4 separate regions of the Homo sapiens genome follow, and regions 2, 3 and 4 are each linked to region 1. Evidence: promoter capture Hi-C in 16 types of primary human blood cells and fetal thymus (Javierre and others, 2016). All regions are on one chromosome and are shown on one strand. The core of a region is centred on a gene start or on the middle of the fragment in contact, and the rest is flanking DNA. Distances in the headings are between cores, read along the strand shown. Region 1 holds the start of TFAP2E (transcription factor AP-2 epsilon). Region 2 overlaps CLSPN (claspin). Region 3 overlaps CLSPN-DT (CLSPN divergent transcript). Region 4 overlaps AGO4 (argonaute RISC component 4).

What was found. The method cuts DNA at HindIII sites, captures the fragments that hold promoters and counts their contacts. A CHiCAGO score of 5 or more calls a contact.
Region 2: a fragment that was not itself captured here is called in contact with the fragment with the promoter of TFAP2E in region 1 in 4 of 17 cell types (M0 macrophages, endothelial precursors, naive CD8 T cells and 1 more); the score reaches 6.1 in M0 macrophages.
Region 3: a contact is called between a fragment that was not itself captured here and the fragment with the promoter of TFAP2E in region 1, in 2 of 17 cell types (endothelial precursors and M1 macrophages). The highest score is 6.7, in endothelial precursors.
Region 4: a contact is called between a fragment that was not itself captured here and the fragment with the promoter of TFAP2E in region 1, in 1 of 17 cell types (non-activated CD4 T cells). The highest score is 6.3, in non-activated CD4 T cells.

Annotation. Positions count from the first base shown.
Region 1 is chr1:35,568,903-35,574,786 of GRCh38, reverse strand. TFAP2E (transcription factor AP-2 epsilon) reads right to left here and starts at 1,473. Exons shown (of 7, transcript NM_178548.4): 1 at 1,183-1,473; 2 at 378-860. The coding sequence starts at 1,209. It overlaps TFAP2E-AS1 (TFAP2E antisense RNA 1), which reads left to right. Exons shown (of 3, transcript NR_183387.1): 2 at 89-427; 3 at 4,868-4,976. RefSeq lists enhancers at 22-768, 1,010-1,509 and a silencer at 4,469-4,570. The HindIII fragment of the contact is 6,124 bases long and covers 1-3,165 here.
Region 2 is chr1:35,748,674-35,755,162 of GRCh38, reverse strand. It overlaps CLSPN (claspin), which reads left to right. Exons shown (of 25, transcript NM_022111.4): 9 at 1,227-1,418; 10 at 3,657-3,913; 11 at 5,352-5,530; 12 at 5,632-5,696. Among named protein-coding and RNA genes, the nearest start is that of CLSPN-AS1, 12 kb to the right of the region's middle. The HindIII fragment of the contact is 3,694 bases long and covers 1-3,666 here.
Region 3 is chr1:35,789,027-35,794,779 of GRCh38, reverse strand. All of the region lies in intron 2 of CLSPN-DT (CLSPN divergent transcript), which reads right to left. Among named protein-coding and RNA genes, the nearest start is that of AGO4, 16 kb to the left of the region's middle. The HindIII fragment of the contact is 4,712 bases long and covers 1,743-5,753 here.
Region 4 is chr1:35,813,682-35,819,368 of GRCh38, reverse strand. It overlaps AGO4 (argonaute RISC component 4), which reads right to left. Exons shown (of 18, transcript NM_017629.4): 2 at 2,322-2,487. Among named protein-coding and RNA genes, the nearest start is that of AGO4, 8.5 kb to the right of the region's middle. The HindIII fragment of the contact is 6,049 bases long and covers 1,053-5,687 here.

The sequences.
Region 1 (5,884 bases), core at 224-2,723:
AGCTGGAGCCCTGGGCATCTCACTGTGCAGTGCAAAAAGGGAATTTTGAATCTTACACTGGTAACTATTATGCTTCTCTTCGCCCCAGGTGCAGGCTGCCCCATGGATGCCACACGTGGCAGCGGGGAGAAAAGAAGTGATTCGGTCCCTGCCGAGGGTTGCTGCCACCCACGCACTGCTGGCGGACTCAGTGCCAGGCAGCCTTGATGGCCAGGCAACGTCTAACCCAGGAGGTGGGACACATCCTCGGAGTCACCAGTGAGATGTGGCGAGCTGGGAGAAAAGTCGGCTTCCTGCATTTGTCACCTTCTGCCTCCAGCCATGGTAGTAAACCACCGCGGCCAGTCCCGACCCATCCCGGATCCCTCGGGTCTCACCTGCAGGTCCTCCAGACCGGGGGCCGCCGCCAGCCCCGGAAGGCCGAGAGGTGCGTCTGCCAGGCCGTGCGCGCCGTCGGCCAGGCCGTGCAGGAGCCGGGGCACGGCAGTGGCATAGTCACGGCGCGGGTCAAGGCCCAGGGCGCGGGCGGGCGGTGCCAGCAGGCCGGGAGGCTCCTCGTGGGCGCGGGCGGCTGCGCGGGGCGCGGCCCAGGCGGCCTGAGGAGGCTGCGGCTGCGCCAGGGGCGCCAGGCCGCCATATGGGTCCCCTGCCAGGTGGGGAAAGGCTGCGGCGGCGTCGGGCGCCTGACCGTAGGGCAGCGGTGGCTGCGGGTAGGGCGGCGGGAAGTAGGGCGGCTGGAATTCGGCGGCAGCTGTGGCGGCCGGCGTGTGGCAGAGCGGGGGCGCCGGCCCGTAGGCCGCCTGGGGCAGAGACGACAGGCGGGCCCCGCCGGCAGCTGCTCCCAGCCCGTCGGGGCGCTCCTGGGGAAGGAGAGGGGTGCCTTAGGTGACCCACTGGCAGCTGAAAGGACCCCAGCCTGAAAGGATCCTCCTCAGCTCGGGAGGGTTCAGCTGCAGTCCCTCCCGTTTCTTGGGGCCCGAGGTTTATTTCCGAGCCACCCGCGGGCGCAGGAGCCTCAGGCTGGGGACAGCGGTCACTTGCGCATCGCGTTCTCAGCTGGCGAAGTCCCTGCGGCCCCCTCCCTCCGAGATTTCGTTAGCGCGGGACAGGAGGGTTGGAAAGTCCAGCACTCAGGCGCCCCGATCCCCCGGCCGAATATGTCCCGGGCCCGAGACTACTCACCATGGCGGAGTAGGTGTGCACCAGCATGGGGCGGTGAGTGCCGGGCGCGAGGCGTGGCGGCGGCGGAGCCCTAGCCCGACGGCGAGCGCTGCGGGCAGAGGCGCCGGGAGCCGGCACAGCCCGCGGAGGTCACGGTGCGGTAGCTGGGTGCGACCCAGCCGGGATCCTAGTGGGCGTGGGGTCCTCAGCGGTGGCCGTTCCCGGGCGGGTCCATGGAGGCAGGACGGACGGGCACTGATCGCACTTGGAAAAGTCGGTCAACGGGTGCCCAGCGCCCGCCCTTCCTCCTCTGAGCGTAGCCTGCTCCATGCACTCCAGTTATAGTGGCGGGGGCGCGCCGGGCCTCCGGGGGCGCGCATTAAAGAGACAAGCTATGGCAGTTCTCTCCCTTTTCCCCAGCGGCTGCCACAGGGGAGGCAGTGGCTTTGGCGGGATCGGGTAGGGTGGGTAGGGGGCGTGAATTCAGCCCACATTGATCAGAGCCGCCTTCTGGGCTCGCAGCTCGCAGCTGCAGTGAAACAGAAATATTCGAGGCTGGGACGCAAGGGCCCTACATTTGCCTGGCTCTATCACATCCTTGCCTTTAAGCAAAGCACTATTCTTCGCTGGCCTCAGCTTCCTCGGTAAAATAGGTATCAATCCTTTCTCTAAGCACCTCAAGAGACTTTGGATGAGGTGGGTAATCGGGAACGTGGAAGAAGTTTGTGAGCTGAAGACTCCAGCCTATCTGCTCATGCGCACACAGTGTCAGTGCGTGTGTTTAGGGGGTCTACCATCACAGTCTTTCCTGAATGGTTCTGGATCAAAATCCCTCGAAGGTGCCCACTTCGCTCTCAGGCTTCCTGGGCTGAAAACTTCCAAGCCAAGCCAGGCTCTGAGGGAGTTGGAGACAGAAGCTGGCCAGACAGAGAGAGAGACTTGCCTGGGATGGGTTTGGGTATGAGCTCCACCTGACAAGGGGCCAAGATATTTCTGAAGCCACAGGGTCCTGGGCTGATTGAGTGTGGGCATGAGATACCCAGAGACTGTTGAGTGACTGTGTGTAACTGACTAGCATGGATGCCGTGTGATTGTTACACTAACATGCGCAGGCTACATGTTCCTGTGTTACCATGGCAGGCACTCCCTGGCTGTCAAGCAAGTTCCAGTCTCTGTAGTCACTCTCTCTTTCTCCCCAAACCCAACCCTCCCCTCCTGACAAGCAGAGACAGGGATTAAAGATGGACAAATGAGAGGAATGCTAAGGAGAACAGGAATTAAGAAAGCAGAAGAAAGATGTTTTTTAAAAGCAAGATGTGCAGACCAGGGCAAAGTAGAAATAATCACAGCAGACTTATTACAGAATGTGCCAGCCTCTGTGCAAAGTGCTTCACGAATATTGGGTTCTTTAACCCTCACAGCAGCTCTATGAAAGAGATACCCATATCATCCCCATTTTCAGGGGAGGGGTGAGGCATGGAGAGGTTAAATGGCTTGCCCAAGGTCAAGCAGCTAAGTGGCAGAGCTGGGGTGATCTGCCCCTGGCCCCTCTCTGCTCAGAATCACTATTCTCTACTGCCTCAGACTCAGGGGCTTGGATTTAGTCCTGACTCTGCCTAACTGTGTGATCCTAGCTACATCCCGTTTCCTCTGTGATCTCAGTTTCTGCAACTTCGACAACACCAATAAAAAAGTAGGGGAAGGCAGAGAAGACTAGTTGTTTTTTTAGGTCCCTTTTTAGTGAAGTAGTAAATGAGAAGATTAAGGTAAAATTATTGATATAGAAGAGGAGGTGATAGTGACACCATTAACTCATGGAATATATGGTTCCAAGTGGGTATCCCAGAAGGCACATGGCAGGTGCAGAGCTCAGGGCTGGATGATCTCAGCCTGGGGAGTGGTGGGGAAAGAAGGAGGCTAGAAGCCAAGGATTCATCATTAAGAACTTTCTGAAGTCTGGAACCGCCAGCGAGGTTCCAGAGGATGAAGCGGAATTGGGAAGCTTTGCAACTTTCCTGCTCGAGATGGGTCAGAGATCAGGATTGTGTTTGTGTGTATCTATATATGAGGGAGTCTGTGGCAATGCCCTGTTCCTCCCTCCCTCAACCCCAGCCACAGGGCATCAGAAGTCAAGCTCCAGGACAGGTGTCAGTGCGTGAATAGAAATTGATGAACTCCTCTGGGAGAAGTCTAGGAGCCGCAAAGGAGATGATGCCTGTGCCCAGCTGCGGGGATGCCCCTGCTCTCTCCAGCAGCTTGGGAAGGCCAGAGTGGCGGGATGTGCTGCCTGTCTGTGGCTTCCTTGGGTTTTCTCAATCTACTTCCTACACCTTTGATAGCCCCTTTTTGCCTCATTGTCCTACTCCGACCATTTCTGTCTTCTTTTCTGTTTCTCTTTTCACCTACATGCTTAATGTCGGTAATTCTTTCTCAGAGCAGAGAAGCTTCTTTTTCTTCCTGCACTCTTCATGAGTGAGCTCATCCCCTCTCAAGTCTTTTTTTTTTTTTTTTTTATAACAGAGTCTCACTCTGTTGCTTGGGCTGGAGTGCAGTGGCACAATCTCGGCTCACTGCAACCTCCACCTCCCGGGTTCAAGCGATTCTCATGTCTCAGTTTCCTGAGTAACTGGGATTACAGGGGCCCACCACCACGCCCGGCTAACTTTTGTATTTTTACTAGAGACAGGGTTTCATCATGTCAGCCAGGCTGATCTCGAACTCCTGACTTCAAGTGAACACTCGCCTCAGCCTCCCAAAGTGCTGGGATTACAGGCATGAGTCACCACGCCCGGCCCAAGTCTTTAATGACTACCTGTCTACTGTTATCTCCCAACTGTGTTATCTCTGGCCTGAATCACTAGTGAGAGATCCAGACCCATAGACACAGCTGCCAGCTGCGTATTTTCTCCAGACATCTCATTGCAGCTGTCTGAAATTTTCCAAGTCCAACACTGAACTCAACATCTCCTCTATCCCCAGCACCAACCCCAACCTGCTTCTCCTTTGCTCTGTAGTTTCATAAATGACACCACCCTTTTTCAAGTTCAAAACTTGCTAGTCATCCCAGAAGAGCGTAGGTCCTTTCCTTAACCCCCACAAGCTAATCCTTATGGAGTGTTGCCATTTCTAACCCTTAAACATCCACCCACAGAAGGTATGTGGTGGAGAATTGAGGCAGGTATCCCAGAGGGCACATGGCACCCTGTCTCAGCACCTTAAACTACCTTACTCTTACTCATAGATCAGTGGCTCTCAAAGTGTGGTCCCTTGAGCCCAGGAGTTTGAGACCAGCCTGGGCAACACAGCCAAAGAGTGGTTCCTGGACCAGCATCACCAACAATATCTGGGAGCTTGCTAGAAGTCCCAATTCTTGGATCCCACTCATGACCTTCTGAGTCAATAACTCTGGGGGTGGAGCCCAGCAACCTGTGTTATTAATAAGTCCTTAAGGTGACTCAGAGGCACATTAAAGTTTAAGAACCACTATCTAGGCCATTGCAACAATTCTCTAACTGGTCTCCTGACTTTATTCATATCTCTTCTGATCAATTTCCAACTTCCACAAGAGTGACTGGACCATGTTACCTCCCTACTGAAAACTTTCCTAGGGCTCCCCATGACCCATCTTCGGGGGAAAAAAAGTTTAAACATTCTAATGAGCATTCCAGACTCTGCAGTTGTGACTAACTTACTTTTCCTCTTTCAGGAACTGCTTCACAAGATTAAAGGAGAAACAGAAAATGTATCTAGCGCTGTGCTTGGGGCATGGCAGGAACTCAATGAATGCTTATTAAATACTGTAAATGATAAACACATCAATGGATGGTGTTATGAATCCACTGGCCTATTAAGGGATCCTTTAGGAAGGCTCTATGTGAACATGATCCTGGGTATCTACACATAGAACCCAGGTATAATCTGAAGAGATCATCTGATAAGTGAGTGATTTTGATTATGGCTACTGGGGAGAGGGATGTTCTCCATGGTCTGCTGCTGCTTTGAGTCTCCCTAAAACATCAGAGTCCCATGATTTCAGACTCAGGACTACTTCTTTCAGTGCCAAGGGACTCCTCACTCTCTGAGGCATGGAGGTGGAGATTTCTGGTTGTCTGCTCCCTGGGACACATGCACACATGTGGAGGCCTGGGGTGCAGTGGGGTACACATGCAGACAGCCTTGGGAACATGGGGCACACAACTTGCACAGAGACATTCATGGGAAACACAAGTACACATAGGAACATGGGACATATATTGACATAGAGTTGCATGCTCAAACATACGTGGACTCCCATTTGGCACACTTGGCATACTGCTTTTCTCCAAGGCTCCTTCTCTTTTCAAAAAGTGAGCTTGCATTTGGATTTTATGTTAAGAAAAAACTCTGATCTGCCTCATTTATTGTTGACACAGCCACCCTCATCCTCCCAGCCTTTGATCACCTCCTGCTCCAGGCCAGGCTGAGTGTTTGCAGGGTGGGGAAATCTGGCACAAGGAGATGCCAAGGCGCCATCTCGTGGTTAGATCTCACAACTGCAGCTCAGATCTCCCTTTTCCCCACTCCGCTGAAATACCAAGAGCAAGCCAGAACTCTCTGACCATACCTCATTTAAGCACAGAACTCTGTCTGCCTTGTATTAGGAAGCTTTGCAGGGTTTGACTTCTCCACTATGGGAGGGAGAGCACCCTGACAGCAGGGACCATGGGTGGCTGTCACTTTATTT
Region 2 (6,489 bases), core at 570-3,069, 180 kb before region 1:
AAGATTGCACCACTGCACTCCAGCCTGGGCGACAAAGCGAGACTCCATTTAAAAATAAACCATTTTATCATGGACGAGAAGGCCGCCTGAAAATATCCAGTGTGCATCAACTCCAAAGGAACTTTCTCCTTAAAACTGCCAGCTCTCATCACAGATTCCATTATGATATGAAGTGTTAAGCAGAGTGAGTAGGGATTGGTTCCAGGTAACAGCTAGCTGAGGGAGAAGGAAATTCTAAGATATTGCAGTGGGGAAGAGGGGTAAGTTTATATCACTATTGGATTGCTGAACTTACTGTTCCCAGTATATATATATTTCCGTTTGTATACAAGTTGAGCATGTGGTACTGGGGCTGCAGTATTTTCTTTCTCATTGTACCAATTGTACTAGTGTAACAGTTTTCACCAAAAAACTTTTTACAGTCCTGCTGCTTAGTTATATCACTGACTGGATTGTCATTTTATTTTCCCTTCTTGAAAAAAATTGACTTTGCCTATATTTAGTAAGATTGCCAATAATGAAACATTCAAAATAGGGAATTTGATCCCAGCACTTTGGGAGGCCAAGGTGGGCTGATCATTTGAGGTCAGGAGTTCGAGACCAGCCTGGCTAACATGGTGAAACCCTGTCTCTACTAAAAATACAAAAAAATTAGCTGGGCATGGTGGTGCTCACCTGTAACCTCAGCTACTCAGGAGACTGAGGCAGGAGAATCGCTTGAACCCTGGAGATGGAGGTTGCAGTGAGCTGAGATCACATCACTGCACTCCAGCCTGGGCAATAGAGTGAGACTGCATCTCAAAACAAAAACAAAAAACAGCAATAACAAATAGGGAATTTTAAAAGGAGACCAAAACCCATGAAAAATTAAGCCCTTGAATAGATGAGATTATAATCTTTTTTCCTACCAGTTTAATACTTTTAAAGAATTTTTAAAGAATGTTCAAAAGAATTGCACATATTTAGAAATTTCAGGTATAAATTTCTGTCTGATTTTTTAAAGTCTGATTTTTGAAACGTTGAGGAAGAACAGTTGTGGCAGTCAATTAGTTTGGGTTAAGTTGTATGAATTTGACTCAGGAGTTAGTAGCAAGGGGTTTTTGGTTTCTCTGTGTATGTGTGGTTTCCCTCATAATTGTTGAGCTAAAAAAAACTTAGCTTATAAGTCTTAAAGGAAAGAGTTTTGAGCATGGCAAACTGACACACTGGTTGGCGTTTGGGTTTAGAACTGGAAGCCTTGAAGCAGCGTTTCTGGAAGCATGCTAATCCAGCAGCCAAACCCAGGGCTGGTCAGACAGTGAATGTGAACGTCATAGTGAAAGACATGGGCACTGATGGAAAGGAAGAGCTAAAAGCAGATGTGGTACCTGTGACTTTAGCACCTAAGAAGTTGGATGGAGCAAGCCACACAAAACCAGGTATTTGAGCCCACAGGTTTTGTTTTTTGCTTTTTGCTTTGTATTCTAACAGATCTTCAAGGCTATTGAAAACCTTATAATGAAAAGTTATAGAATCTTTTTCCTTGGAGGCTTTGCAGAGCAGTATCTCTGGCATGATTCACGTGTAGCACACCTAGAGGTGTGGGGTGGACAAGCTGGCTTTATTTTTTTTTTAGATATCATTTGTCTTATTATAAAAAACCCCATTATAGACAAATATATAGAATAAATGAAAAACTTAATCTTCTATCAGAGACAGGTTCTATAACCATATCGTGTATCCTTTTAAACTCTCTTCTTTGCACATATGTATATGTAATTTAAACAAAAACAGGCTGGGTGCAGTGGCACATGCCTGTAATCCTAGCACTTTGGAAGGACAAGGCAGGAGGATCTGTTGAGCTCAGGAGTTGGAGACCAGCCTGGGCAACATAGTGAGCCCTCATCTCTACCAAAAAAAAAAAATTATCCAGGCATGGTGGCCTGCACCTGTGGCCCCAGATACTTGGGAGGCTGAGACAGGAGGATCATTTGAGCCAGGAGGTTGAGGTTGTAATGAGTCATGATTGTGGCACTGCACTCCAGCCTAGGCGAGAGAGTGAGACCCTGTCTCAAAACAAAAAACCCAAAACAAAACAACCCACCTATAATGTGATCATAACATGCATTCTGCTTTGTGTTTTAGAAATGTATTAAGGACAGCTCTCACCCCTCCCTTGAAATCACAAGTAATATATCACATGGAAAACAGTTTTAAACACTGAAAAAAGGTATCAAATGAAAAACTAGTCTTCCCAAAGATAACTATTAACAATTTCTTGTATGTCTTTATAGGAGTATTTTTATCCATATACCGTATTTTGTGAATGTGTGTGACATTGAACATTTACTCCCTGTCAGGCATTGCTCTAGGTGCTTTATATGTTTTATCTCATTTAATCCTTACAACCCTATGAGGTAAATAACATTAGTATCCTTATTTTGTATATGAAGAAACTGATATGCAGAGCACTTAAGACACTTGCTCAAGTTTACACAGCTAATAAATGGTAGGACCAGTAGTCTAATCCAGACCACCTAACTCCAGAGCTCAGATCTACTTTATATTGCTTTTGAGGCTTTTTTTTTTTTTTTTTTTTTTCCTCTAAGACAGAGTCCTGCACTGTCACCCTGGCTGGAGTGCAATGGCACGATCTTAGCTCACTGCAACCTCTACCTCCTGGGTTCAAGTGATTCTCCTGCCTCAGCCTCCCGAATAGCTGGGATTACAGGTGCCTGCCACCATGCCTGGCTAATTTTTGTATTTTTAGTAGAGATGAAGTTTCGCTATGTTGGCCAGGCTGGTCTCGAACTCCTGACCTCGTGATCTGCCCACCTTGGCCCCGCAAAGTGCTGGGATTACAGGCGTGAGTCACTGCGCCCGGCCTTGAGGCTTTTTTTAAAATGGCTGCATAATATTCCATTGAATGAATACAACATGACTCATTAAACCATACTCGTATTGACAGATGTCTTGTTTGTTCCAGTTGTTGCTATTGCATACAGTGTTATATTATAGTGCCAGATATATGGTGGTATATTAGATGAAAATTCCTTACAGTGGAATTGTCATGATATATATCACATTTTGATATATATCATCCAGTTGTCTTTCAGAATGGTTGTACCACTCTGAATCACAGTGTATGAGTTCCTGTTTCCTCTCAATAGGTATTATCAAACCTTCTAATTTTTGCCAGGCTAACATGTCGAAAATGTATCTCGTTATTTTGATTTGTAGCTCTTCAATTAGAAGTGAGATTAAGCATTACTTTTAATTTATTAACAATATATGTTTATTTTTCGTGAACTGCCAGTTCATATCATTAGCTCATTTTACTCGAGTCGTTTCTCTTTTTCTTTAATATAGGTAAATTTATCAATGTTTTTCTTCATGGCTTTTGAGCCACAGACTTGAAGCTCTACTCCCTACCCACCTTTTCTCTCTTTTGAACAATTATTTTATAATCCCTGAGTAGTATACTATCTAGGGTGCAGAAGTTCTCTTTGATACTTCAATTCATAATAATACTCTTGTGTTCAAATAACAAAAAAGCCCAGAATACTAGAGTCTCAGATTTTCCTTTTGGGATGTGACTAGAATATTTCTGGAGTTGCCTAAAATGCATACCTAATTATTGTATTATGTCTAAAGCATTTCTACATATTTCTGTTCAGGTGAAAAGCTTCAGGTGTTAAAAGCTAAACTGCAAGAAGCAATGAAACTCCGAAGGTTTGAGGAGCGCCAGAAGCGCCAAGCACTGTTTAAATTAGATAATGAAGATGGGTTTGAGGAAGAGGAGGAGGAAGAGGAAGAAATGACAGATGAGTCTGAGGAAGATGGAGAAGAGAAGGTAGAGAAAGAAGAGAAAGAGGAAGAACTAGAGGAAGAGGAGGAGAAAGAAGAGGAGGAGGAAGAAGAAGGAAATCAGGAGGTTTCTGGCAATTACGTTGTTTTGTTACCTTGTCATGGTGAATATGAGAGAAAAAGTCAGACTTGAAAAAGAGTATAATAAGCATGTTCAATTGTATAAGAGGTTTTAGGGGCATGATGAGGGTAACTACCTCATATATCCCTAAATCTTAGGAACTTCAGTTCTGTCAGTACCACTGAATATCTGTAGATCATCATTATATATCTGAATACAGATATTCAGTGGTACTGACAGAATACCATTGCCTGGGCTTCCACCTGTTTATATATTTTAATATAATAATGCTAATATTAAAAATGGCTTTGTATTCGTAGGAAATTTTATCTTTGTTGTTTATTTAGGTTTCTCTAGCAGATTAAAAAGCAGTCCTAACCTTGGCTAGATTGAGGCCTGGAGTAAATTCTTAGGGAGGTAGAGGCCTTTCTGAGTTATTTTCGTTCTTTGTAGAAGAAGGCATTTGTAGAAGGGCCTCTTGCCCTTGTTCCGTAGTACTGTTTTCTGCCTAGGGAAAACAGGTGATGATACGATTGTTAAGTATTAAAAAACTTTCCTTTTTGGGCCGGGCAGGGTGGCTCATGCCTGTAATCCTAGCACTTTGGAAGGCTGAGGTAGGTGGATCACCTGAGGTCAGGAGTTTGAGAACAGCCTAGCCAACATCGTGAAAATCCATCTCTACTAAAAATACAAAAATTAGCTGTGTGTGGTGGCACACACCTGTAATCCCAGCTACTCAGGCAGGAGAATTGCTTGAACTTGGGCAGTGAAGGTTGCAGTGAGCCAAGATTGTGCCACTATACTCTAGCCTGAGCGACAGAGCAAGACTGCATCTCAAAAAAAGAAAAAAAAAAAAAAACTTTCCTTTTTGTATGCTGGGATCACTTTATTTTATTTTATTTTATTTATTTATTTAAATTTTTTTGAGATGAGGGTCTCACTATGTTGACCAGACTGGTCTCGAACTCCTGGCCTCAAGTGATCCTCCCATCGTTGTGGCCTCCCAAAGTGCTGGGATTACAGGCATGAGCCACCATGCCCAGCAACTTGAGTTATTATTTAATTTTGGGTAAAGGAGAAAGAAAGCAATGGCTGAGCTATACAGCCTGTCTCAGTCTGTGCTTGGTTTGAGATCAGTAGTCAGCCTGCAATCTTAGACTGATTAATTAACCTCTTACTGCCTCAATAAAATGATAATCCAGTCGTCCTTTATAATCTTAGCAATTTCGGGAGGGTAGAAGGTAAAAAAAAAAAATAGAAAAAAGTTCTAGAAGTGTCAGGGAAAATTATGTTGATAATGGTCATATGGAACTTCCTTCAAGTTTACCTTTTTGAATTTAAGATGTGATCTGTAACCAATCAGCCATATTTCAGGCTACCAGTGTATTTGCTTTTAAATGTTTTGACTTGTATTTTTTGTTTTGTGGTGGCCTGATTGGTAAAGACTGCAGAATTCCTTCTTAGTAGTGAAGAAATAGAAACAAAAGATGAAAAAGAAATGGATAAAGAAAATAATGATGGCAGTAGTGAAATTGGCAAGGCAGTTGGCTTCCTCTCTGTTCCCAAGTCTCTCTCATCAGATTCTACTTTACTTCTGTTTAAGGACAGCTCTTCCAAGATGGGGTAAGTGATTCTCTCTAAGAAAACTTAAAATTGCCTTGGATTTGCCCCTCCTGTAAAAACTAGGAACAGATACTGAACCAATTTACTTTCTTATTTTGCAGTTACTTTCCTACTGAAGAAAAATCAGAAACAGATGAAAACTCAGGCAAGCAGCCTAGCAAACTGGGTAAGTAGTGATTCTTGTGCAGAACTTAACATTTCTTTTGTCCCTCAGCTTTGATATTTAAGGACTGCAGTACGGTAAGTTTCCATGTTTTTAAATCTGGTCACTTCCCAGTTTCATATGTAGCTATGAAAAGGGTTTATGAATTAGAATATTTTTCTTGGTCTATTTTTTGCAGTTTATTTATAGTAGACCATGGTACATAATGTCCTTAGTGAATGTGTGTTGATTGAGTGAGCAATGAAATGTTTCTGTATGTAGATCAAAGGAAGACGTATAATTGATTGGACAATGAAGAGTGTGATCATAGGCATTAGGAAGGATAAGAGAAAGAAGAGAACTTTCGGCCAGGCGCAGTGACTCACGCCTGTAATCCCAGCACTTTGGGAGGCTGAGGCAGGCGGATCATGAGGTCAGGAGATCGAGACCAGCCTGGCTAACATGGTGAAACCCTGTCTCTACTAAAAATATAAAAAATTAGCCAGGTGTGGTGGCACGCGCCTGTAGTCCCAGCTACTTGGGAGGGTGAGGCAGGAGAATCGCTTGAACCTGGGAGGCGGAGGTTGCAGTGAGCCGAATTCACGCCACTACACTCCAGCTGGGGTGACAGAGCGAGACTGTCTCAAAAAAAAAAAAAAAAAAAAAAAAAGAACTTTCAAGTGTCACTTAGCTCAGAGTAATAAGCCCTGATTATATAATGCTATCTTAGTACTGTAATTTACCTTTAACTTAATGTTTTGGAACATATAACTTGAGGGGTTTGCCTATGAATTTTATCTGACAGTTTCATCCTCAA
Region 3 (5,753 bases), core at 2,849-5,348, 220 kb before region 1:
TGGACAACATGGTGAAACCCCATCTCTACTAAAAATACAAAAATTAGCCGGGCATGGTGGTGGGCGCCTGTAATCCCAGCTACTTGGGAGGCTGAGGCAGGAGAATCACTTGAACCTGGGAGACAGAGGTTGCAGTGAGCCGAGATGGCGCCACTGCACTCCAGCCTGGGCGACAGAGCGAAACTCGGTCTCAAAAAAAAGAAAACAAACAAACAAACAAAAATGGCCGGGTGCGGTGGCTAACGCCTGTAATCCCAACAGTTTGGGAGGCCAAGGTGGGAAGGTCACCTGAGGTCAGGAGTTCGAGACCAGCTTGGCCAACATAGTGAAACCCTGTCTCTAGTAAAAATACAAAAATTAGCCGGGTGTGGTGGTGCATGCCTGTAGTCCCAGCTACTGGGGAGACTGAGGCAGGAGAATCGCTTCAACCCAGGAGGTGGAGGTAGCAGTGAGCTGAAAGTGTTCCACTGTACTCCAGCCTGGGTGACAGAGCAAGACTCCATCTCAAAAAAAAAAAAAAAAAAAAAAATTAGTTGGGCCTAGTAGTGCATGCCTGTAGTGTCAGCCACGAAGCTGAGGCAGAAGGATCACTTGAGCCCAGGAGATTGAGGCTGCAATGAGCTATAATTGTGCCACTGCACTCCAGCCTGGGTGACGGAGCCGGATGCTGTCTCAAAATAAATAAGTAAATAAATAGGCCGGGCGCGGTAGCTCACACCTGTAATCCCAGCACTTTGGGAGGCCGAGGTGGGTGGATCACTTGAAGCCAGGAGTTTCAGACCAGGCTGGGCAACATGGTAAAACCCCGTCTGTACTAAAATTACAAAAGTTAGCCAGGCATGGTGGTGCATGCCGGTAATCCCAGCTACTCTGGAGGCTGAGGCAGGAGAATCACTTGAACCTGGGAGGCGGAGGTTGCAGTGAGCTGAGATCATGCCACTGCACTTCAGCCTGAGCAACAAACTGAGACTCTGTCTCAAGAAAAAAAAAAAGAAAATACGTAAATAAAAAAAATAAGTAAATAAACAAAACAAAATAAAAAGTATCTACCAGAAACCAAAAGCAAACATTATGTTTGTAGTGGAGGTCTCCCATAAGGGAATGCCTACACTGTGAATCCCACAAAGGCAATAATTCAGGGTTAAATAAGTATCTAAATGTTAAATACAAATGTATTCTATTAAATATTTTACATTAAATACAGATACATCCTGCTAAGTTGCACATGTTACTGTAATATGCACAAGCTGTCCTACCCATGCAAGAACAAGGTATAAGGGGTAACTGAGAAAGTATTTGGGCAGCCCCTTAGTCTCCATGAAACTCACCTCATATAAACTGTTAACATCTTGGTCACCTGACCAGGACATTTGTATGAGACCTAGAATATCTCTTCCATGATGTCTTGCCATCTGCTGAATGAGGCATCTCTAAGTAAACAGCTTGATTGGATAATGCATGCATGTTTCTCATAAATGAGGGTCAATCCTCCAAATTATGTTATAATAAAAATGGCAAACCGCGGCCGGGTGCGGTGGCTCACGCCTGTAATCCCAGCACTTTGGGAGGCCGAGGTGGGCAGATCACGAGGTCGGGAGATCAAGACCATCCTGGCTAACACAGTGAGACCCTGTCTCTACTAAGAATACAAAAAAGTAGCCGGGCGTGTTGGCGGGCGCCTGTAGTCCCAGCTACTCGGGAGGCTGAGGCAGGAGAATGGCGTGAACCCGGGAGGCGAAGCTTGCAGTGAGCCGAGATCGCGCCACTGCACTCCAGCCTGGGTGACAGACCAAGACTCCGTCTCACGCACACACAAAAAAAGGCAAACCGCAAACCTCACTAAAATAAAGAACAAGAAACACATACCAATTTTTCATCTTTACTAGTCAACATTATATTGACTAAGGACAAGTAAAAGAAGACGTATTAATATTTTTAAAAAGAGATAATACAAGTCCCCAGTAGCTGGACTTGAAGATTAAAGATGCTACCTAGAAAATCCAAGCAAATCACTAGCCTGAGCAACACAGCAAGACTCTGTCTCTATAAAAAATTTTTTAAAAAATTTAGCCAGGCTTGGTGGTGCACTCCTGTAGTCCGATCTACTCAGAAGGCTGAGGCTGGAGGACCACTTGAGCCTAAGAGTTGAAGGCTGCAGTGAGCTATGATCATGCTGCTGCACTCCATCCTAGGTGACTAAGACCCTGTCTCAACAACACCACCACCAACAACAAAACAAATAGAAAAAGAAAAGAAAGGAAAAGAAAAAGAGGCCAGGTACAGTGGCTCATGCCTGTAATCCCAGCACTTTGAGGGGCCAAGAGGGGCGGATCACTTGAGCCCAGGAGTTTGATATCAGGCTGGGCAACAGTGAGACCCCCATCTCTACAAAACATCAGAAAATTACTTGGGCATGATGGCACACAGCTATAGTCCCAGCTACTCAGGAGGCTGAGGCAGGAGGATTGTTTGAGCTTGGAAGGTAGAGGCTGCAGTGACCCTGTCTAAAAAAAAAAAAAAAAAAAAAGAAAAGAAAAAACTCCAAGTGAATCAACTGAAAATTACTAGAATGAATGACAGTTAATACAATGATTATGTATAAAATTACCATATAAAATTACCGTATAAAAATCAATAGCTTGGCCGGGCACGGTGGCTCACGCCTGTAATCTCAGCACTTTGAGAGGTTGAGGTGAGTGGATCACCTGAGGTCAGAAGTTCGAGACCAGCCTGGCCAACATGGTGAAACCCCGTCTCTACTAAAAATACAAAAATTCGTTGGGCATGGTGGTGGGCACCTGTAATCCCAGCTACTCAGGAGGCTGAGGCAGGAGAATTGCTTGACCCTGGGAGGCGGAGGTTGCAGTGAGCTGAGATCGCACCACTGCACTCCAGCCTGGGGGACAGAGCGAGACTCCATCTCAAAACAACAACAACAACAAAACACCAATGGCTTTCCTATGACCAATGATAATTTATTAGACTATGTCATTAAAGAATATCAATTCATAATTGCTGCAAAATTTATAAAGAACCAAGAAATAAATTAAGAGTGTGAAAATCCTCCATGAATAAAATTGTGCAGTTTTACTCTAAGATATAAATAAGACCCAAATAACACATAGAAAGCCACTTCTTTTAAAGATGTTGCTGGGTGTGGTGGCTCACGCCTGTAATCTCACCTCTTTTGGAGGCTGAGATGGGCGGATCACCTGAGGTCAGGAGTTCAAGAACAGCCTGACAAACACGGCTAAATCCCGTCTATACTAAAAATACAAAATTAGATGGGCGTGATGTCTCATGCCTGTGATCCCAGCAACTCCGGAGGCTGAGGCAGGAGAATCGCTTGAACCCGGGAGGCAGAGATTGCAGTGAGCAGAGATCGTGCCATTGCACTCCAGCCTGGGCAACAAGAGTGAAACTCCGTCTCAAAAAAAAAAAAAAAAAAAAAAAAAAGTCATTTATCCTCAAATTAATCTATTAATGTGTTTTTTAAAGTGAAATTAAGCAAGCTGACAAAAAATGTTAAAATAGCCAAAAATATGAACCAAGCAGGAGGAGAAACCCTATCAGATATCAAAATGTGTAATAAAGCTATAATTACTCAAATAGAATTTTTTGGCTTAAGTTAAATAAACATAAAAAAACAGTTAAATCTCCAAATCCAGATTATCTATCTACCCATCTATCTAGCTAGCTACCTACCTACATACCTACCTACTTTCCTGGTGGACTTTAGTACATGATAAACATGGCATTTCACATTAGAAAGGAAAAGAATGACTATAGTAAATATTGTTGGGACAACTGGTTATCCGTTTGGAAAAAATTATATGTTCCAGTCATTCTTTATATCATATACAGAATAAATTCCAGTTTGATTAAACAAAAACAAAATAATAAAATAATAATAAAATAAAATAATAAAATAATAGTAGAAAATATAGAATATTTTCAAGTTTAGGGTAGCAGAAGGAGAGGTATTTTTGAACAAGACCTACAATTTAGAAACCATAAAAAAACCTAATATATTAATTACACGAAAAATTAAAACTTCTCCCAAAAACTGTCATAAAATTAACTATAGTTACTACAAGTCCATAGTAAAAGATTAACAATGCAGTAGAAAAAATGGGAATTCACATAAGAAGGCATGAAAAGGTGTGCAATCAGCAATCGAAACTACAAAGAACAAAAATGATACTTTAAAAAAGTTCATAGTCCCATCTCGGCTCACTGCAACCTCCGCCTCCCAGGTTCAAGCTATTCCTGTGCCTGAGCCTCCCGAGTAGCTGGGATTACAGGTGCCCACCACCATACCTGGCTAATTTTTGTATTTTCAGCAGAGATAGGGTTTCACCATGTTGGCCAGGCTGGTCTCGAACTCCTGACCTCAAGTGATCCACCCGCCTTGGCTTACCAAAGTGCTGGGATTATATGCATGACCCACTGCATCCAGCCTACCATTTTATTTTTTAAGACAGGGTCTCACTCTGTTGCCTAGGCTAGAATGCAGTAGCATGACAGTGGCTCACTGCAGCCTCTATCTCCCTGCTCAAGTGATCCTCTCACCTCACCCTCCCAAGTAGCTGGGACTACAGGCGTGCGCCACCATGCCCAACTAATTTTTTGTAATTTTAGCAGAGACGGAGTTTCACCACGTTTGCCAGGATGGTCCCGATCTCCTAACGTCGTGATCTACCCGCCTTGGCCTTCCAAAGTGCTGGGATTACAGGCATGGGCCACCACGCCCGGCCTAATTTTGTATTTTTAGTAGAGACAGGGTTTCTCTATGTTGGTCAGGCTGGTCTTGAACTCCCAACCTCAGGTGATCCACCAGCCTCGGCCTCCCAAAGTGCTGGAATTACAGGTGTGAGCCACAGCACCCGGTCTGACAATATATTTCTGTTGTTTTAAGCCACCTAGTTTTTGGTACTTTGTTACACAGTCCTAGGAAACTATCCAGGGAGCAAGAGTGAAAGCAGGGAGACCACAAGGCCAACTAGTGCTTGGCTTCAGCTCAGTGTTGATGGTGGCCTGAGTGAAGGTCGTCACTATAGATCTAACTACATTTTGAAGGTAGAATTTGATAACAGACCAAATATGGGGTATGAGAAAAGGGGAGGCATTAAAAATAATTCAAAAATTTCAGTGCTGTCAGTGCCCCAGACATCTGCATTTCTGAGCCTGAGGCCTTTGCCAGAAGTACAAAAGGAAAGCCACTCTAACGGTTCCTACCTTAGACTGAAAGTGCTGAAAAATTATCCTGCCTGGGGGAAGCCCTCAACCAGTGATTCTCAGGAGCTGAGGTATAAATACTCCTGGCTCTCTCTCCCTCAGGTGGGATAATTCTGAGGCATGTGTTCTACACTATTTCCTGGAGTTTCCCTGCAGGACTGAGATCCAGTCAATCAGTGGTAGCTGGCTTAATAACACACCCTTTATTGGCTGCTGTCCCTTCCACATGTCATTTCCCACTCTCCTTCAAGTGGTCCCTGTACTTCTAAAATAAATTACTTGAACACTTTTAGGGGAACAAACTAATACATAACATTTTTGGCTTGAGCGACTGGAAAGATATTTATTAATATTTATTTATTGGTCGGGCGCGGTGGCTCACGCCTGTAATCCCAGCACTTTGGGAGACCGAGGTGGATGGATCACAAGGTCAGGAGTTCGAGACCAGCCTGGCCAACATGGTGAAACCCCATCTCTACTAAAAATACAAAAAAATTAGCCAGGTATGGTGCTGT
Region 4 (5,687 bases), core at 2,828-5,327, 240 kb before region 1:
CCACCTCAGCCTCCTAAAGTGCTGGGATTACAGGTACGAGCTACCACAGCCGATCTCCACTAGCATGTCTAATAGTCATCTCAACCCTGATGTCCAAAACGCACAGGTCTCCTGATCTGCTACTCCCTGCTTCTGCTTCTCTTGCAGTTTTCCCCATCTGATAAATGACAACTCCTTTTTTTCCAGTAGCTCAGGACATAAACCCTGGAATTGATCATGACTAATTTCTTTCTTTCACACCACATGTTCAATCCATCAGTAAATCTTATTGACAGTAGTATGAAAATATTTGCAGGATCTGACCACTTCTCATCACTATCAATTATACTACTCAAGTCTAAACCACCATTACTTTTCACCTGAATCATTCCAAGTGCCTCTTAATTAATTTCCATGCTTTTCACCCTTACCTGCTAGGGTCTAATTTCAGCACAGCATCCAGGGCAATCCATTAAAAATATAAGTTTGTCATGTCTTAGATTTATTTAGTCACGTTGTGGGTTTAGTATTTAAAACTCACCTAACCAGAATAAATGACAAAGTGTTATGAATGCCTACAAGTTCTGCATGATAGAGGCCTTCTGAAATTTCTCCAACCTCATCTCCTATCACTCTCCCCCACTCACTCACTCCAGCAATCCAGAATTATCTGCTGTTTGTTTCTTTCCTTCCTTCCTTCCTTCCTTCCTTCCTTCCTTCCTTTCTTCCTTTCTTTCTTTCTTTCTTTCTTTCTTTCTTTCTTTTTGAGACAGAGTCTCCCTCTGTTGCCCAGGCTGGAATGCAGCGGCATGATCTCCACTCACTGCAACCTCCGTCTCCCAGATTCAAGTGATTCTCCTGCCTCAGCCTCCCAAGTAGCTGGGATTACAGGCACGTGCCACTATGCCCAGCTAATTTTTGTATTTTTAATAGAGACAGGGTTTCACCATGTTGGCCAGGCTGGTCTCGAACTCCTGACCTCAAGTGATCTGCCCGCCTCAGCCTCCCAAAGTGCTGGGATTACAGGCATGAGCCATCACGCCCGGCCTGCTGTTTCTTGAACTCACCAAGCTTCTGACTTTGCCTGGGACACTCTTCATGCAGATATCCCTCACCTCCTCTAGGTCAAATATCACTTTTCAGTGAGACTTTCTCTAGGTATTTGCATACGTATATACATATACATACGTGTGTGTATATCTACATATGCATGTATATGTATATATAAACATATATATTCATTCATATATAAATCTCAGTGCTCATCCTATCCCCATTTCCTATCTTCCATCTCTATTTTCTTTTTCTTTATTGCATTTATTACCAACTAATAAAATACATGTTTTGTTTGCTTCTTCATTTATTGTTGGTCTTCCCCATTAGAATATACGCTCCTCAAAGGTAGAAACTTTTGCCTGTTTTGTTCATGGTGAATTCCCAGAGCACAGGGCAATACCTGGCACAAAATAAACATTCAATAAAATATTCGTTGGATGGATCAATGTTATCCATTACCACCACTTCTACTACTATTGATCTCAGTTACACAATAGCCAATAATGGGTTTACAAGAGAATGAACTACACCAGAAAGCCAAATTTTGATCCATAATGAGAAAAATATCAAGCGGCACAAAATATTTAACTTGACAGCAAAGAGCAATCTTAAAAAAGCAAGAATCTTAATATCAAATATTGCCTGAATGTCACTGCATAGAAACAGAGAAAACAAAAGTGGATGTATACTCAGCACACTGTAAGAATATTTGCTACAGGGCTGTCTTCACACCAGGTAAATTCCTGCTATACAGACCACAATACTTACATCATCTCATCAGGACCACTCTTAGATAATGCTAGAAATAACTAGAGCTTCTCTCTGTGCTTAGTTTTCTCAGTACTCCAAGATGACTTTTCTTTCTTTTCCCCCAAGAAAAAATCTGCAAGTAATCTTCTGTATTGATATATATATATATATACATCTTTCTCATGTCCAAAACCAACATATAATAATAAAAATTGAATTTCCAGATAGTTCTATTTCCCACAGACACTAATGTCTTCACCTATTTTAGTAAATTTTTGCTACCCTTGGTCAATGAAAGAGCGACCTTTCTTTTCCATAATTAAATAAGTGTTTACTGATTGACTAATAATATATCCAGCACTTTGCTAGAGCCTACAGAGGATAACCAAGCATGAGACAGCAAACCTGCTATTAAGAAACCTATCATCTTAGAGAATAACAAAGCCTACATGTTGGATGAATTTAGAGAACAATATGATACATAAATAAATTATATGCACTTAAATATACAGAAATCCACTGTTTCTAATCCTTACCTGTTGACTCTACGAGGCCGTTTTTCAGGCTTAATATCCACATCATAGTGATACACATCTATTTTAGGAATCTGAACCTGAAAATGATTGGCTAACAGTCGAATTGGTTTTCCAACAGTTCCAAGGCCAGGACGACGAGGTGGCTGAAACAGGCTAGCCGGAGGTCCTAAAGAGATTGAAAGACATTTGCTGTGCTATTTTTTTTTTCTTTTTCTTTCTTTCTTTCTTTTTTTTTTTTTTTTTTTTTTTGAGACAGAGTTTCGCTCTTTCACCCAGGGTGGAGTGCAGTGGCTTGATCTTGGCTCACTGCAACCTCTGCCTTCCAGTTCCAAGCGATTCTCCTGCCTCAGCCTCTCCAGTAGCTGGGATTACAGGAGCCTGCCACCAGGCCTGGCTAATTTTTGTATTTTTAGTAGAGACAGGGTTTCACCACATTGGCCAGGCTGGTCTAGAACTCCTGACCTCGTGATCCACCTGCCTCAGCCTCCCAAAGTGCTGGGATTACAGGCGTGAGCCACCGCACCTGGCCTGCTGTGCTATTTATTCTTCTTCTTCTTGATGATGATGATGATGGCTACAGTTATTGAGATCTTATTATTCACTGTATGTACTCTAATATAAAGAATCTGGGGTGTCTTTCGACCTAAGGTTCTCTAGATTTCTAAATATTTTGCCAAGTTGCTATTATTTTTAACATAAGGACATCAAAATTAGAATGATGAATTCCTCTCAAGTATAGGCTACAGTATAAAATCTTGCATGAGCATTAGTAAAGCTCTATAGCTAGACTTACAAAATTATATGCATTTTAAAAACTATCTCTAAACTCTGGAGCCACCATCCCCAGAGTTGGAAATGACCTACTAATCTCTCACAAATTAGCCTGCATCATTATAAATTGTACATATAGGAGAAGATTAAACCACAGCTCTATTTATCAATTTATTTGCTAATTTCGATAGTGAAACAATACCAATAAAGCTAGACCTTCTCGTTTATAACTTGATATTTTTAGAACCTGGACAATCTGAGATTTCTTGCTCATAAGATCTAGTTTATTCCACAGACATTTATTCATTTATTCAGTTATAACATGCCTAACCTGTACTATGGACTCAGAATGAAGACAGAGCCCCTTCTTTCAAAGAATGTACAGTCTAGACCAGTGGTTCTCAACCCGGGGCAAATTTGTTCCCCAGGAAACATTTGGCAAATATATGGACACATTTTTGGTTGTCACAACCTGAGAAGTGCTGCTGGCATCTAGTGGAAAGGACCCAGGATACAGCTACGCATTCTACAATGCATAAGATAGCCCCCCACAACAAAGAATTACCCAGTCCAAAATATCAATAGTGCTGAGAAAGAGGTTGAGAAACCCTGATGTAGATAGAGTAATATTTCCAAACTATTTCAAAAAAGAAAAGATTCTATAAGTTAAAGAAACCTTGCATACTCTCTCCCCTCTTAAAATTTCAATGCATATTATCATATTAAATTATCTAAAAAGTCATGTAATAAATAAACCTAGTTAACTTTACCTCATCATTTAGCTAACTGTTTTTTTTCCCCACAGAACTCTCTCTCTCTCTCTAAGATTTGAACATCTATTAATACTCAGCAGAAAAAGATCTTGTGGAGCACAGTCTGGGAGACACTCGTTTAGAGAAAATCTTACTCCTTTTTGATGACAATATCAAGTGGATACTGGCCTAAAAAATGAACATCTTTTCTGCTATGAATAGGCACTGAGCAAAGTGGGCTGTGGTTACAATGGAAAGTTACAACAGGTTCTGTTACTGCAATGGCATTTCACTGAGAACAAAGACTTCACTAAGGAGAGAAAACTTGGAAGCAAGAAGTTGTTCTGGGCCAGGCGTGGTGGCTCACACCTGTAATCCCAGCACTTCGGGAGGCCAAGGCAGGCAGATGACCTGAGGTCAGCAGTTTGAGACCAGCCTGGCCAGCATAGTAAAACCCCGTCTCTACTAAAAATACAAAAATTAGCCGGGCACGGTGGTGGATGCCTGTAATCCCAGCTACTCAGGAGGCTGAGGCAGGAGAATCGCTTGAACCCGGGAGGCAGAGGTTGCAGTGAGCTGAGATTGTGTCACTGCACTCCAGCCTGGGCGACAGAGGGAGACTCAGTCTAAAACAACAACAAAAAGAAGTTGTTCTGTTCCAACATCACTTAGGAAAATTAGAGCAAATACTTTATGATATTTATGGTTACAGATCACCATATTCTAACACTTAAAGTATTAAAAATCATTTTACATATTAATTATTCATTTTCCCACTATATTCTACTTATCCTTCAGAATTAGGTTTAGATGTAACCTCCTTGGAAAGCCTTTCCTGATTCTCCCAGACTAGAGGATCCGTCCTCTGTGTTCAAAAGACTCTCTCTATAGGGGAACCCATAGAGCAAGTATAAGAAACCACTTGTTAAGTTACTCTGTCTCCTTCACTAGATTGCAAACTCTTATAAACACCGCATGTTCTCACTCATAGATGGGAATTGAACAATGAGAACACTTGGACACAGGAAGGGGAACATCACACACTGGGGCCTGTTGTGGGGTAGGGGGAGGGGGGAGGGATAGCATTAGGAGATATACCTAATGTAAATGATGAGTTAATGGGTGCAGCACACCAACACGGCACATGTATACATATGTAACAAACCTGCACATTCTGCATATGTATCCTAAAGTATAATAAAAAAAATTTAAAAAAAAGAAATGAACCTCCTATTAATCTTCTCAATATCTAATGCAACAGCCATCATGTTATAAGAATTCAATAAATGTTGAACTGAACAGTATCAATAATCCCAGATAGAATCTAAACACAAAAATCATAATTATCTTTCTTTCTCTCTCCTTCCTTCCCTTCTGTCCTTCCTTCTTTCCTTCCTTCCTTCCTTTTTTCTCTCTCTCTTCTTTCTCTTTCTCTCTCTTTTTTTTTTTTGAGATGGAGTCTCACACTGTTGCCCAGGCTGGAGGGCAGTGGTGCGATCTCGGCTTACTGCAACCTCCGCCTCCCGGGTTCAAGAGATTCTCCTGCCTCAGCCTCCCAAGTAGCTGGAATTACAGGCACCCGCCACCATGCCCAGCTAATTTTTTGTATTTTTAGTAGAGACGGGGTTTCACTACATTGGCCAGGCTGGTCTCAAACTCCTGACCTTGTGATCCGCCCACCTTGCCCTCCCAAAGTGTCTCTCTTCTTCTTCCTTCTTCCTTCCTTCTTCCTTCTTCCTCTTCCTCTTCTTCTTCTTCTTCTTTTTTTCTTTTTTTGAGCCAGGGTCTTGCTCTGTTGCCCAGGCTGGAGTGCAGTGGGTCAATCATGGCTCACTGCAGCCTC